Linked DNA regions of Homo sapiens: region 2 is linked to region 1. Evidence: promoter capture Hi-C in 16 types of primary human blood cells and fetal thymus (Javierre and others, 2016). All regions are on one chromosome and are shown on one strand. Each heading gives the region's core, a stretch centred on a gene start or on the middle of the fragment in contact. The rest is flanking DNA. Distances are from core to core; before and after follow the strand shown. Region 1 holds the start of RHO (rhodopsin). Region 2 overlaps IFT122 (intraflagellar transport 122).

Region 1 (7,845 bases), core at 4,989-7,488:
ACTGAGGCCAGAGAGGAGCAGCTGCTGAAGGCTGCACGGTGGGGCAGTGATTCTGGCCTTTAGCCTGTAGTCCCAACTACTCAGGAGGCTGAGGTGGAAGGATCAATTGAGCCAAGGACAGGAATTCAAGGCTGCAGTAAGCTATGATTGCACCACTGCACTCCAGCCTGGGCAACAGAGCAACATTCATCTCTAAACAACATTTAAAAATTGTTTTAAGAAGACAAATGAGATAACTGTTGATCGTAATGGCTGTGTAAAAACTGAACATGGCTGGGTGTGGTCGCTCACACCTGTAATCTCAGCACTTTGGGAGGCCAAGGCAGGAGGATCGCTTGAGCCGGGAGTTAGAGACCAGCTCAGACAATATAGGGAGACCCCATCTGACTGGGACTGGTCCTGATCTCTCATCTCCAAGTGCTCAACATTGTGCCCATGTTCTTGGAAGGAGGAAGTAAGGGAGAGGTAGACTGAGCAGCCTCAGGTGGACCTGACTGGAGACGCACCTCAGGCAGCTGGAGGTCCCCGGGCCTTGGTTTCCCATCTGTCCCCAGCAAGGCTGTGAAGCTAGGAGCCCCTGGTGGCTGTCACACAGGTGGGCAGAGGCCCCTCCTCCAAGGTCGCTCTGTGTCTCTTCCCTGGCTTGGAGTCTGTGTGCCCACAGCAGAGGCCACCACTGGGCAGGGTGCTTACCCCGAGCCTCCCTGATTCTCCCCCTGCAGATCCAGAACACTGGCCTGGTATGGAGACCTCGTCATGGCCCTCCCTGCTTGCCACCCGCAGTAGCTGCCCATGCAATTCAGCCAACACCCAGACCCCTAGGCCTGCCCTCTATCCCCAGCACGCCACCCTGGGGGGCCCAGCACCTCCAGGCCCAGCTGGCCCTCCCTACCTGCCCTGCTTGGGAGACTCTTTTGACCCTCCTGGTCCACCTTTTGCTCCTCTGGGCTCCCACAGCACTGGGACTGGGAGAAAATGCTCATCTCTCATGTTTAGTTTCCGATCAGTACCCCCTGAGACTGGGAGCCCCTTGAAAGCAGGAACCATGTGGGATCCACCTCAGCGTCCCCAGGGCCTGGCGCATATAAGGAGTTTGGCAAATGCTAGGGTAGAAAAGAGAAAGAGGAAGGAGGGAATGAGAGCTGGTCTTTCTCCCTCCCTTATTCCCCCTTGATGCTCTCAGTACCGCTGAAGGCCTCATGTAGCCTTGGTGACGCAGCCTGGTGGGGCTGAGCCATGTGGGGGACCAGGAGAAAGAAAGCCAAGGAAGAGGAGGAGGAGGAGGAGAAGGAGGAGAAGGATGCTGACCTAGCAGCTCCTCTCACAGCAGCTCCTCTCTTGCAGAGGCTGAAGAGCGATTTGTGCCCTGCAAGCTAAGCCCCTAATCCACCGAGGCAAAGGCAAAGCCCCTAGCCGGGCTCCCGAGGGCTGGGACTCGGGTGCCCCAAGATGGCTGCATCCAGCCATCTTGGCTTAGAAAGCCCCCCACATGCCAGCTTGGCCAACACCCACACCATGGGTTTCTCTGGACTGCCCGACACAAGGTGTGGGTGCTGGCCAGGCCTGTGTTCAAATCCCAGCTCTGCAGAGGAACTTTGACCCTGCATACCCCAGATTCCTCAGTGGTCAGTGGGGAGTTAGACCCTCTTCATAGGGGGCAGGAGGAGTTGTTCATTCATTCAACAAATGTTTATTGAACACCTCCTATGGGTTGTGAGCTCAGAGGCAGCGATGAACAGGCCAGGCTGGTCCTGCATTCTAGAAATAGATGGGAAGTCAGTCAATAAGTAGACAAATGAGGCCAGGTGTGGTGGCATGCCTGTAGACCCAGTTACTCGGGATGCTGAGGTAGGAGGATCACTTGAGCCTAGGACAGGAATTCAAGGCTGCAGTAAGCTATGATTGCGCCACTGCACTCCAGCCTGGGCAACAGAGCAAGACTCATCTCTAAAAAACATTTAAAAATTGTTTTAAGAAGACAAATGAGATAGTCGCTGATGGTAATGACTGTGTAAAAACTGAACATGGCTGGGTGTGGTTGCTCACACCTATAATCTCAGCACTTTGGGAGGCTGAGATTACAGCCTCCCAAGTGGCTCCCAAGGCAGGAGGATCACTTGAGCCTGGGAGTTAGAGAACAGCTTGGACAATATAGGGAGAGCCCAACTCTACAAAAATGAAAATAAATTAGCCAGGCATGGTGGCACACACCAATGGTCCCAGCTACTCAGGGGTTGAGGTGGTGGACCGCTTGAGCCCAGGAGGTTGAGGCTGCAGTGAGCCATGATCATGCCGCTGCACTCCAACCTGAGTCACAGAGTGATACCCTGTCTCAAAAAACAATAGGCCAGGTGTGGTGGCTCACGCCTGTAACCCCAGCACTTTGGGAGGCCGAGGCGGATGGATCACTTGAGATCAGGAGTTAGAGACCAGCCTGGCTAACATGGCAAAATCCTGTCTGTACTAAAAATATAAAAATTAGCCAGGCATGGCAGTACATGCCTGTAGTCCTGGTTACTTGGGAGGCTAAGGCAGGAGAATCGCTTGAACCCAGGAAGAGGAGGTTGCAGTGAGCCAAGATCACACCACTGCACTCCAGCTTGGGTGACAGAGTGAGACCCTGTCTCAAAACAGCTAAACCTGGTGGGGGTGCCTGGTGTGTAGGATGGTCAGGGGTGGTCTCTCCAAGGACATGAGTGTGAGCGGAGACCTGAAGGAGACTCAGGAAGAGATTAATACTGTCAGCAACAAATATATTGATCACTTACAAGCACTCCCAATAATCCTATTAGGTAGGCACTATTATCATTCCCATTTTACAGAGTGGAGAACCGAAGCACACTCTCGGGAGGGCGGGGTAGCTGGCTGCACCCAGGCTGTGTAGCCTCAGTCCAGATGTAAGGGTGGGTGGAAAAGAGCCTTGCCCAATGAGGGAGAACAGTGAAACCAAGGCCATAGGGTCTAAAGATTCACGAACCAGGCTCTCATGGAGAAAGCAGGTGAGGTTTACTGTATAGATGGGTGTGCCCCTACCCCACACTGAGGCTTCCTCGTCTGAGCAAACTGAGGCCCAGAGAGGGGAAGGAAGCAGGACTACCATGGTGACTCAAAGACCAGCTAGAATCCAGCCTCCTCTCCTCGAGGCTTCCACTGCCCCACGCCAGGCCTGTGTGACTCAGTCTAGGGCCTTTCCATTACCCCAGCTAAACCTTTCTTTAGTCATTTATACCATGGTGTGAATGGCTGGCTGGTCTTTCCTGAGAGCTATCTTTGATGAGGGGAGGGAGGCATAGCCAGGTTTGGGAAGCTGATACCCCAGGAAGCCCAGTTGACTGTGTGGGTTATAGCCCAGGCTGTCACTGATTTGTAACGGGACCTGAGCAACTCTGCAGAGCTAGGCCTCAGTCTTTTCATCTGCAAAATGGATATAGCAGAGATGGTCAGAGTAGGTGACTTCGAATGACCCTTCCAGCTCACTATGAGTCTGTTTTCCTGAACAAAGAGCATTTTTTGTTTAAAAAAAAATTTCTTGGGCCGGACACGGTGGTTCACTCCTATAATCCTGGCACTTTGGGAGGCCGAGGAGGGTGGATCGCTTGAGCCAGGAGTTCAGGACCAGCCTGGGCAACATAGCGAGACTCCACCCCTACAAAAAATACAAAAACTAGTGGTGTGCACTTGTGGTCCCAGCTACTCAGGAGGCTGAGGTGAGAGGATCGCTTGAGCCCAGGAGGCAGAGGCTACAGTGAGCTATGATTGTGGCACTGCACTCCAGCCTGGGCGACAGAGACCTTGTCTCAAAACTTTTTTTTTCTTCGTCAAGCTTTACAGAATAAAGAGCACTGTCACCTCAGTGATGGCTGTTAGTTCCCCATCACCAGGGCTCCATGAGGTTGCAATTGTGAAACTCACAAAGGAGGAACCTGAGACAGAGAGGGGAAGTACTGAGATCATCTAGGTCCATTCCCCCACTCACTCGTTCATTCAACAAATATTCAGGAGCACCTTCTAGGTGCCAGGCCCTGGAGACACATCAGTGAACAAAACAGACATCATCCCACCTCTTTCCACTACAGGCCAAGCACCATGCTGGTCTCTGGGAACCCTGTTGTGAGCAAGACAGACCCAGGCTTACCCTTGTGGACTCATGTTACAGGCAGGGAGACGGGCACAAAACACAAATAAAAAGCTTCCATGCTGTCAGAAGCACTATGCAAAAAGCAAGATGCTGAGGTACTGCTAAGCTGTGTGGGATGGGGGCTCAGCCCGGCCAGGGAGGGGCCAGTTGTGGGTCAGTCTTGACCCAAGGCATCCAGGACACCCTCCTTCTGGCCATGAGGGTCCACGTCAGAATCAAACCCTCACCTTAACCTCATTAGCGTTGGGCATAATCACCAGGCCAAGCGCCTTAAACTACGAGAGGCCCCATCCCACCCGCCCTGCCTTAGCCCTGCCACGTGTGCCAAACGCTGTTAGACCCAACACCACCCAGGCCAGGTAGGGGGCTGGAGCCCAGGTGGGCTGCAGGGAAGGGGGCACTCTTCTGAGCAGACAGATCTGGGAATCCTGGGTGGGAAGAGAGACAGTGAGAGAGAGATTAAGGGATATTTCCCAGGCATCAGGGCTTTGCACTCTCAGGGGTCCTTCCGCCTGGATGTCCTTCCCCTGAAGCTTCCTCCTGTTGTTCCGTTCTCAGCTCAAGCTCCAGCTTCTCAGAGAAGCCTCCTGTGTTGGGAGTGGCTGCGACTGAACTGTCCCTACTGTTATTCGCTCTTCTATTTGTTTGTGGTCCCTGTGCCCCCTCACCCCACAAAAACACTGGCTTCTTGTGAGCAGGAGCTTGCTCTTTCGTGTACCCTGTGTGTCCCCAAGGACCAAGCACCTTGTCTGGGCCACAGTAGGTGCTCAATACACATGTTGGCTGGACAGTGGTCACTGAGCGGCCGCACGTCGGGCACTCTCAGCACTTGCACAGGCCGCCCCAGACACCCCACTTCATTCCTGGGAGGTGTCATCATGTTGCTTGGACGACGGGGAGAGGGGGACCTGCCAGTGTTGGCCTCCATTTTCCCCCAGTCATCTGCCCCCAAGGCTCTGACTACTTTCTTTCTCACGGTACATCCTGCTATTCTGGAATCGGCCCTCGTGGGGCCACCTGGTACATGGCATTTGAGGCCCTCGTGGCTGATTAGGCCTCCCCCAACAGTGCCCTGTCTGCTGCCTCCAGGGCCAGCCTCCCCTTCAGACTGGAGTCCCCTGAAGGGTTCTGCCCCTCCCCTGCTCTGGTAGCCCCCTCCATCCTCCCTCCCTCCACTCCATCTTTGGGGGCATTTGAGTCACCTTTCTACACCAGTGATCTGCCCAAGCCACTGCTCACTTTCCTCTGGATAAAGCCAGGTTCCCCGGCCTAGCGTTCAAGACCCATTACAACTGCCCCCAGCCCAGATCTTCCCCACCTAGCCACCTGGCAAACTGCTCCTTCTCTCAAAGGCCCAAACATGGCCTCCCAGACTGCAACCCCCAGGCAGTCAGGCCCTGTCTCCACAACCTCACAGCCACCCTGGACGGAATCTGCTTCTTCCCACATTTGAGTCCTCCTCAGCCCCTGAGCTCCTCTGGGCAGGGCTGTTTCTTTCCATCTTTGTATTCCCAGGGGCCTGCAAATAAATGTTTAATGAACGAACAAGAGAGTGAATTCCAATTCCATGCAACAAGGATTGGGCTCCTGGGCCCTAGGCTATGTGTCTGGCACCAGAAACGGAAGCTGCAGGTTGCAGCCCCTGCCCTCATGGAGCTCCTCCTGTCAGAGGAGTGTGGGGACTGGATGACTCCAGAGGTAACTTGTGGGGGAACGAACAGGTAAGGGGCTGTGTGACGAGATGAGAGACTGGGAGAATAAACCAGAAAGTCTCTAGCTGTCCAGAGGACATAGCACAGAGGCCCATGGTCCCTATTTCAAACCCAGGCCACCAGACTGAGCTGGGACCTTGGGACAGACAAGTCATGCAGAAGTTAGGGGACCTTCTCCTCCCTTTTCCTGGATCCTGAGTACCTCTCCTCCCTGACCTCAGGCTTCCTCCTAGTGTCACCTTGGCCCCTCTTAGAAGCCAATTAGGCCCTCAGTTTCTGCAGCGGGGATTAATATGATTATGAACACCCCCAATCTCCCAGATGCTGATTCAGCCAGGAGCTTAGGAGGGGGAGGTCACTTTATAAGGGTCTGGGGGGGTCAGAACCCAGAGTCATCCAGCTGGAGCCCTGAGTGGCTGAGCTCAGGCCTTCGCAGCATTCTTGGGTGGGAGCAGCCACGGGTCAGCCACAAGGGCCACAGCCATGAATGGCACAGAAGGCCCTAACTTCTACGTGCCCTTCTCCAATGCGACGGGTGTGGTACGCAGCCCCTTCGAGTACCCACAGTACTACCTGGCTGAGCCATGGCAGTTCTCCATGCTGGCCGCCTACATGTTTCTGCTGATCGTGCTGGGCTTCCCCATCAACTTCCTCACGCTCTACGTCACCGTCCAGCACAAGAAGCTGCGCACGCCTCTCAACTACATCCTGCTCAACCTAGCCGTGGCTGACCTCTTCATGGTCCTAGGTGGCTTCACCAGCACCCTCTACACCTCTCTGCATGGATACTTCGTCTTCGGGCCCACAGGATGCAATTTGGAGGGCTTCTTTGCCACCCTGGGCGGTATGAGCCGGGTGTGGGTGGGGTGTGCAGGAGCCCGGGAGCATGGAGGGGTCTGGGAGAGTCCCGGGCTTGGCGGTGGTGGCTGAGAGGCCTTCTCCCTTCTCCTGTCCTGTCAATGTTATCCAAAGCCCTCATATATTCAGTCAACAAACACCATTCATGGTGATAGCCGGGCTGCTGTTTGTGCAGGGCTGGCACTGAACACTGCCTTGATCTTATTTGGAGCAATATGCGCTTGTCTAATTTCACAGCAAGAAAACTGAGCTGAGGCTCAAAGAAGTCAAGCGCCCTGCTGGGGCGTCACACAGGGACGGGTGCAGAGTTGAGTTGGAAGCCCGCATCTATCTCGGGCCATGTTTGCAGCACCAAGCCTCTGTTTCCCTTGGAGCAGCTGTGCTGAGTCAGACCCAGGCTGGGCACTGAGGGAGAGCTGGGCAAGCCAGACCCCTCCTCTCTGGGGGCCCAAGCTCAGGGTGGGAAGTGGATTTTCCATTCTCCAGTCATTGGGTCTTCCCTGTGCTGGGCAATGGGCTCGGTCCCCTCTGGCATCCTCTGCCTCCCCTCTCAGCCCCTGTCCTCAGGTGCCCCTCCAGCCTCCCTGCCGCGTTCCAAGTCTCCTGGTGTTGAGAACCGCAAGCAGCCGCTCTGAAGCAGTTCCTTTTTGCTTTAGAATAATGTCTTGCATTTAACAGGAAAACAGATGGGGTGCTGCAGGGATAACAGATCCCACTTAACAGAGAGGAAAACTGAGGCAGGGAGAGGGGAAGAGACTCATTTAGGGATGTGGCCAGGCAGCAACAAGAGCCTAGGTCTCCTGGCTGTGATCCAGGAATATCTCTGCTGAGATGCAGGAGGAGACGCTAGAAGCAGCCATTGCAAAGCTGGGTGACGGGGAGAGCTTACCGCCAGCCACAAGCGTCTCTCTGCCAGCCTTGCCCTGTCTCCCCCATGTCCAGGCTGCTGCCTCGGTCCCATTCTCAGGGAATCTCTGGCCATTGTTGGGTGTTTGTTGCATTCAATAATCACAGATCACTCAGTTCTGGCCAGAAGGTGGGTGTGCCACTTACGGGTGGTTGTTCTCTGCAGGGTCAGTCCCAGTTTACAAATATTGTCCCTTTCACTGTTAGGAATGTCCCAGTTTGGTTGATTAA
Region 2 (7,349 bases), core at 4,562-7,061, 38 kb before region 1:
TACAGAGATCCCTTAAACCCTTTGCCTAGTTTCCCCCAACGGTAACAGTGTGCATAGCTCTAGAGTGATCTTCCCACCCATGTTGGCATGTGTAATCTCCCACCACAGTCATGGCACTGAACACTGCCACCACCACAAGGTCCCTGGTGTTGTGCTTTTTACAGCCAGCACCCCTCCCTCCTGCCTGGTCCCCACCTGCCTTGTATTTACAGCTGCATTTTATTGTGTCTTGTGGATGTTCCACAGCTTTCTTTACCAGTCCTACTGGACATGTTTGCTGCTTATAGCTTTTTTGTATTATTGTAAATAGCAGGCATCTTTCTAGCTAGGTCCTTGCACCTGTCCCAACTTGGCGCCTTGGCATAAATTCCTAGAAATGAAATTGCTGGGTCAAAGCACGTGTACCTTTGAAAGACTTTTAGGGAAATTTCCAGGTTTCCCTTCCGCTAGGCTCTGTCAGTCTGTTTTCCCCATACAACTCAGCTTCAGGCTAGAGCCCACTTCTTCTAAGTTGATGATACCCTCGAAACTCATGACTGCAAGACTTACTGGGGAAATGCCCATCATCCATGCCTGACACAGATCAGCTATTCAAGAAATGTTAGTGGAATTCAGATCTGAGGAAAAAGACCAGAAAGCAAGAGGAAGAAGGGAATGAGGTGGGTGGAAGTGGCAGCAGGACGAGGGGCACGAACAGCTTCTCCTGGACTGTGTCCTCGTCATCCTTGTCTGCCCCATTACAAACCCACGCACCACATCCACCAGGAACTCATCTCCCTCAATTGCCCCAAACTAGCTCTGCTTATTTTATTAAAAGGTTTTCTCCCAAGATTGCCATCCTGACCTCAAAAATAAATGCAGTTTGCTGCTCTCTGACTGTGGCCGGCCAAGAGGAGCCAGAGGGGCAGCCTGGGGCTTCCTCTGCCAGGACTTTAAGATTCAGCAGCAAAGTCTTGCTGACTGCACCAAGGCCATCCTGCTGACGCAGCGGGTCAGGACTGCCAAGGGTTAGGAAACACATTCTCAAGACAAAGGCTGTTCATCTGTCGCCTCTGCCTCCGGCCATCCTGTGGTTTTGGCCCAGAGAGGAGGGAGAAAGCATCAGACCCAGTCTTGGAATTTTTGGTTGCCTTTCGAAATTTACATTGTCTTGTGCAAGAACTGGTTTGTCAGGGCTGCCAAGTAGGACAACGAGCCCTAGGAGGGCTTCTCAAGGCGGTGGTGACTTCATGTTTGAAATCCAACAGCAAGATAAAGTATAGCTCAGAGAGTATTTGTTCAGTGGGGTCTATTTTTAAAACTCCACTCAAATTGTGCCTCCCAAGTAAGTCCAAGTGTTAGCCATCCATCATATGCTCAGCTGTGATATGCCTGCCTGAGTGCCTGTCCCACTCACGGGGCAGTCAGCATGGCAAGCAGTTGGTGTGGTTCGGGGAAGGAGCACCAGCTTTCAGTCCTGACTCTGCCATCTCAAGCAGCTGTAACTAGAGCAACTCATTTCACTCTTTGGGGCCTCATTTCTTTTCTGTGAAATGGGGTTAATTATACCCATCTTTCAGGTTTCGTCAAGCCAAATTTCTATTATTATTTCTCCTTATTACTGACTCATAAAATAGCAAAAACCACAAAACACAACTAAATTGCAACAGGCTGTACTTACTGACGGACTTTAGAAAGGAAAGCTCATTGTGTGCTTTAAGAAAAGCTTTCAGGAGTTTGAGAAAGCTTCCAGGAGATGGTGAAACTTGATCTGAGCCCTGAGAGGTCTGGAAAGGAAGAGTGGAGCAGGGAAGCTTTTCAAACAAAGGGAAAGGTGGGGGTAGGAACAAGACTGGAGAGCCTGGGAGATGGTGAGGAGCTGGTGCTGAGAAAATACAGTGAAGGTAATGATCATGCCTGCATTTTGCCCAGTGCTTCATTATTTTTGGAGCACATCTCTCCTTTGCCCATGGTAGCCTGAGCTGGGCAGGACATCTAAACAGAAGTTAATGGATTTACCCAAAAAGTCACCAGCCTAGGATGTGGCTGAGCCTGGCCTGGGTTCTAGGTCACCTGCTCCGTAGCCTATGCCTGCTGCCCCGCTAAAGGGAGCATTTAATGTGCCAATGAGGAGAGATGGCATGGTGGAAAAGATAAGCACTTGGAAGCAGCCATGTTTTGCTCTGAGAGTAGACAGACTCAAAATAAAAAAAATTCCTTCAATTCTAAAGCTAAAAAATGGGACTGGAAATTTCAAAGACAGACAAAAGCCCCAAATGGAGAAAACAATACTTCAAGCTCCACATTTGGGAACCATTAGCACAGAGGTCCTGGCTGATTTCTCTTCCCTGCCCAGGAAGCCAGGAGAGATGCAGGCCACTGAAGCACACTGGCTGGCCTAAAACAAGGGCAAGGCCTTTCCTTGTTAAAGATGTCATGGCCCAACTCAAGACTCATTCTCAGGCCTGCACGCACATATGCACATATACACGCGTGCATACATGTGGCAGGAAGGGGCACAGAACCTGGAGTCCAGTCACCTCTGGCTATTGCCAGCTATTTGCTGGGACAGGTCATTTGTCCTCTCTGAGTCTCGGTCTCCTGGGCTGTAGCCAGGGAGAAATAATACCTACTGCACAGGACTGTGGGGACAGCCAAAAGCCTTTTATAAACCTAAGAAAGAGAAGTCGTTAGGAACTATTCATGGGCACTCACAGCAAGGCAACCCCATCTTGTAGGAGGGCATCTGTCCCCAGGGCAGGGATCAGGAGAGCTGTTTCCAGAGGCTTCCAGGGTAACTTGGAGCAAATCACTTACCTTTCTTGGACTCAGTCCCTGGAAGAAGAGGCCATTCCAGACCGCTTCCTCCCACGAACTCATTCATTGTGTCAGCAAACGTAGACTGGGGTTCTGCTGAGGGAGGCCGATACAACCCACCACTGCCCACGGCTGTGCACGGCTTTGCTGTGGGAACAGGCCTGTAACTGCGGCACAACCTGCGATCTGGACAAAGGGCAGAGGAAGCTGAGACTCTTTCCCCTGGGGTGGGGGCTTGAGGGGCTTGGGAGGACTCTGCAGAAGAGGTGACATTTCAACAGGGCCTTGAAAGCCAAATAGGTATTTTCCAGAGGCAGAGTGGGGAGGGGCAAAGGCATTCCAGGTGAGGGTGACATCCTATGGCGAGGCAGGCCTGTAGGTGGGAAGGAGGGGAGGATGGGCAGAGAGTTTGTGCTGTGGAGCACAGTAGCCCAGTCATGAGAGAGGTGCAGGATGGAGCACACAGGGTGGGCTGGGCAGGCTGGGCAGGGTGCTGATTGGCGGCTGCAGGGCTGCTCCCCAGGCATGGGTAATCATCCCACGCATCTGGAGGCAGGCTCTGTATGCATCTGGTTCTTTCCATGGCTCTGAAAACAGTCTTCTTTTTTTCCCTTGATGAAATCCTGCAGTCCGCTCCCATGTACCAGTACCTGGATAGGAAACTGTTCAAGGAAGCCTACCAGATTGCTTGCTTGGGTGTCACAGACACTGATTGGCGTGAACTGGCCATGGAAGCGCTAGAAGGTTTAGATTTTGAAACAGCAAAGAAGGTAAGCATCTAGCCAGCAGGAGCTGGAGTTTGGTCCTTGTGGGGTCCCTTAAGAAGGCAGATGGGGACCCAGGTGGCACGGAGAGGCCATAGACTGCAGCAGTCTCTGGAGTTAGGCTGACCTGGGCTTGTATCTTAGCCACTTCCTCACTGTGGGCCTGGGTAGGTGACACCCTTTCTAAGATTGCTTCTCTATAGACGTAGGATGATGACAGGCCCCATCCTCACAAAGCTGTGAGGATCAAATGGGAGGATGCCTGTAAAGCCTGACCCAGGAGCAGCATGTCAGATTCTGGCTGTCACTCTTATTAGCTGTTCTCTGTGGGAAGCACCTGACTAGTAGCCTGGCACATCACAGGCACTCCGTAAATGGCGGCTTTTATTATCGGTGTAGTCACTGGCCATGATGCTGCACACAATGCTGCTTTTCTTAGCATCTGCCAACTAAGGTGGGAGAGATGGTCAAGGTCTCTGATTCTGACAGCAATGTGGGCACTTCCCACGTACCTTCATGGCGGGATTCATGGACTTGATTCGTTGTGTCCTTTCCTGGCCTAGTCTATGAAAGCTAGAGAGATGGCTGAAAACATCTGACCCCTCTCTGCACATAAGGAAAAGCCCAGGTATGTTCCTGAGCTGTGTTTCCATCTAGAACCTCAGATGGAGGAAGGAATGGCTTCCAACCTCCACTCCCCTACCCCTTCCCTCTTTATCTCCCCACAGTCAATTAATGAGCTGCTCATTTTGTCCATATTCCCGGGCTGACATTGAAGGAGTGGCAAAGAGGGACGTGATGCCCGCCTTGGGTTAGATCAAGACTTGTAGGCATGAAGAGAGGAGACTGGACCAGACCAGGACTAAGAAGCCTGGCTGAGAACGAGCTGTGTCACATAAGGGGCTCTGGGACCTCAGGCCAGCCACTTTCCTTGGAGCCCCAGTCCTCCCAGTTCTGAAATGGGGGTGGTGAGAATGCCCGCTGCAGTCATGAGGCTTAACTGAGATGTTGTAAAGGGGAATTTAAATCAGGGATGGTTGTGCAGATGCTAGCCATTACTAAACAAGGGAAGTGATCGTTGTGTAACAATGATCTAGATTATATTTTTAGATGTCCTCAGTGTAGGAAAGTGGAGATGGAGGAGGCTGTAAGAATTCAGAGGAGGGGCCAGGCGCGGTGGCTCACGCCTGTAAATCCTAGCACTTTGGGAGGCCGAGGTGTGCGGATCACAAGGTCAGGAGATCGAGACCATCCTGGCTAACACGGTGAAACCCCGTCTCTACTAAAAATACAAAAAATTAGCCGGGCATGGTGGCAGGCGCCTGTAGTCCCAGCTACTCCGGAGGCTGAGGCAGGAGAATGGCGTGAACCTGGGAGGCGGAGCGTGCAGTGAGCCGAGATGGTGCCACTGCACTCCAGCCTGGGCCATAGAGCAAGACTCTGACTTAAAAAAAAAAAAAAAAAAGAATTCAGAGGAGGGAGGAGGCATCTCTATGGAGGGAGCTTCCCTCTCCTGCCCCACCCAGAAATGCCAGCAGGGAGGGAGACGACAAATCCCTAGAATAGAAAGGATTGTAAAAAGCCACAAGGTTTAATATGAGTGTTTACTGATATTTTTATAAATATATATATTTTTATATATTTGTTTAAATATTGAGACGGGGACTCACTGTGTTGCCCAGGCAGGTCTTGAACTCCTGGGCTCAAGCAGTCTTCTTGCCTCAGCCTCCCAAAGTGCTGGGATTACAGGTATAAACCACCACACCCAGCCAGATTTACTATAGTTGAAAAGTAAGTGTATGTGGTATATATCTATTGTGTACAACATGCTGTTTTGAAAAAGCCACATGATATTGAAGATAGGCTGGATGTTACTATTTCATCTAAATCCCGAGTACCCCACCTCTTTACTCTGTGCCAGGCACTCAGGCTCACCAGCTTGGATATAGTGGTTCCTAGAGATGGACAGCCATCCCCACTAGATGGCAGAGAAGAGCTGCTGAGCTCCCGCCAGACCCTGAGCAGAGCTGCAGGTTCCTCCCTATTCCCAGGCTTCCCTCTGCTGAGCTCATTCAGGGGCCTTGTGACTCTGACCAGGCACCCTGACGCTGCAAAATGTGTCAGGTTGAAGGAACTCGGAAACAGATTTATTAATGGGCAAATCCTAGACACTAGCACAGCTGAGCTACAGCTAGAAAGACCCTTGAGAGGGTGTCAGTAGCAGGCCCCTTTCCACAAAGAAGATGGTTGGAGCCCAGAAGCAGAGAAGTAGGCTCAGAGCGAGGACTCAGACCTCGAATGCTCCTTTCCCTCTTGGCCACTGTGCTGGGCTTTGCAGGGTTGCCCTCTCAAGGCGCTTTAAGGAAACCCAGATCTAGAGGGTGATGTGTAAGACCTACAGCTTGGGACACAGGTAGTCTTAGCCCTGTGTTCCTTGGCCCATGTGATGCCCGCATTGCCCTTTTCTACGAATTCCTCTTCACAAACACTTGTTTGCCAGGTTCTGACTCTGATGCCTCCCTTAACGCTGCCTCCCACCCCTGCTCATGCTCAGACCATTCATCCGTGTTCTCCAGGCATGTGGTTCGTAGTTGGAGAGCTCTTAGCTCTGGGAGGTGTCATGATCTGTTTAATTGACCAGCTTTCCCTGTTAGAATGTGGACCTCTGAATTGTGGAGGGGGACAGGGGCCGAGACATGTTTCTCCCTGGGTCCTCAGTCTCTTGACAGGAAGCCTGGTCCTGTGGGATGAAAAGATAAAGTTGCATTGTGGTCACCTGCAAGGCAGGCCGGGGACTTGCTCATCTCCCGAGGTCTTTTCAGGAGGGAGGATGCCATGCTGCTGAGCAGAGGCTGCAAGTGGTCAGGATTGCTCTGCGTGTTCAGTTCAAAGGGCTCTGGAGCTGCTGCCTCCTCTAGGCACAGGTCAGCCCATTTTGAATGGGGCAATAAATGGTGACAGCAAAGCCACCTGAAAGCAGCCTGACCTGGTGGCTTGTGCTCCTCCAAACCCTGGGCAGAATCTGAAAGCAGCAAAACTAGCTTAGCTAACACCAGTCTGCTTGTTCCTCAGAAACTTCTAGAGGTCCATGAGTTAAAGTCTCTGGCTTTACTGTGAGTTCAAGGCAAGGGCTGCAATTTTAGGGTTTACATAAAGAGTTTGCCTTCCACAGACTTGGTGGGATTCATTCCCTACCCCTCCACCTTCTTCCAGAATCTGTCTTTATACCCTCTCAGCTTTCCCCTCCTCTGCTCCCTCTGTGGTACCAGGGGCTCTGGGTCCCCTGTGTCTGTGGCACCACTGGGTAGGCATAGCTGTCCCCTGCATTCTACCCATGTTGCCAAGATGTATAGGCAGTCTCTCATCAGTCCATGCATCTCATCCTCTCCTGCTGTGATGCTGCGTGACCCCCCAGAGGGTCAGACCGGCTTGTTCTTCTTTGGGTCTAGAGTCTCCCAAGGAGGCACCGCCACAGACTGTGGCATCACGGTTTTGTTTTACCTGATCTCAAAATGACTGATGCAACTGGGATGTCTTTGCTGTTCTTTACATGGTCCAATCCCATGGATAAAGCCATGCCTCGCTGGGTGGTATAACCTCCTGCACGCACGATGATTAATCTGTGCTTGCTCCCTTCCTCTCCTCTGTGGCTCACTGTCTAGATAGAGCTTGACTTCCCACCCCTAGCCAATCACCCACTTTTGAAGCCAAGAAGACAGCTTATTTTATTCTTTATTTCTTCGCCACAGGCCTTCATCAGAGTACAAGACCTCCGATATTTAGAGCTCA

The links. Contacts are between HindIII fragments. The CHiCAGO score rates a contact against its expected background, and 5 or more counts as called.
Region 2: a contact is called between a fragment that was not itself captured here and the fragment with the promoter of RHO in region 1, in 2 of 17 cell types (M2 macrophages and M1 macrophages). The highest score is 8.1, in M2 macrophages.

What each region holds. Positions count from the first base shown.
Region 1 is chr3:129,522,401-129,530,245 of GRCh38, forward strand. RHO (rhodopsin) reads left to right here and starts at 6,239. Exons shown (of 5, transcript NM_000539.3): 1 at 6,239-6,694. The coding sequence starts at 6,334. RefSeq lists a silencer at 3,792-3,992 and enhancers at 6,190-6,915, 6,916-7,641. The HindIII fragment of the contact is 8,320 bases long and covers 4,670-7,845 here.
Region 2 is chr3:129,484,832-129,492,180 of GRCh38, forward strand. It overlaps IFT122 (intraflagellar transport 122), which reads left to right. Exons shown (of 30, transcript NM_052989.3): 16 at 3,426-3,566; 17 at 7,310-7,349. Among named protein-coding and RNA genes, the nearest start is that of RHO, 40 kb to the right of the region's middle. RefSeq lists silencers at 4,847-5,055, 5,462-5,531 and an enhancer at 5,455-5,749. The HindIII fragment of the contact is 8,041 bases long and covers 1,792-7,349 here.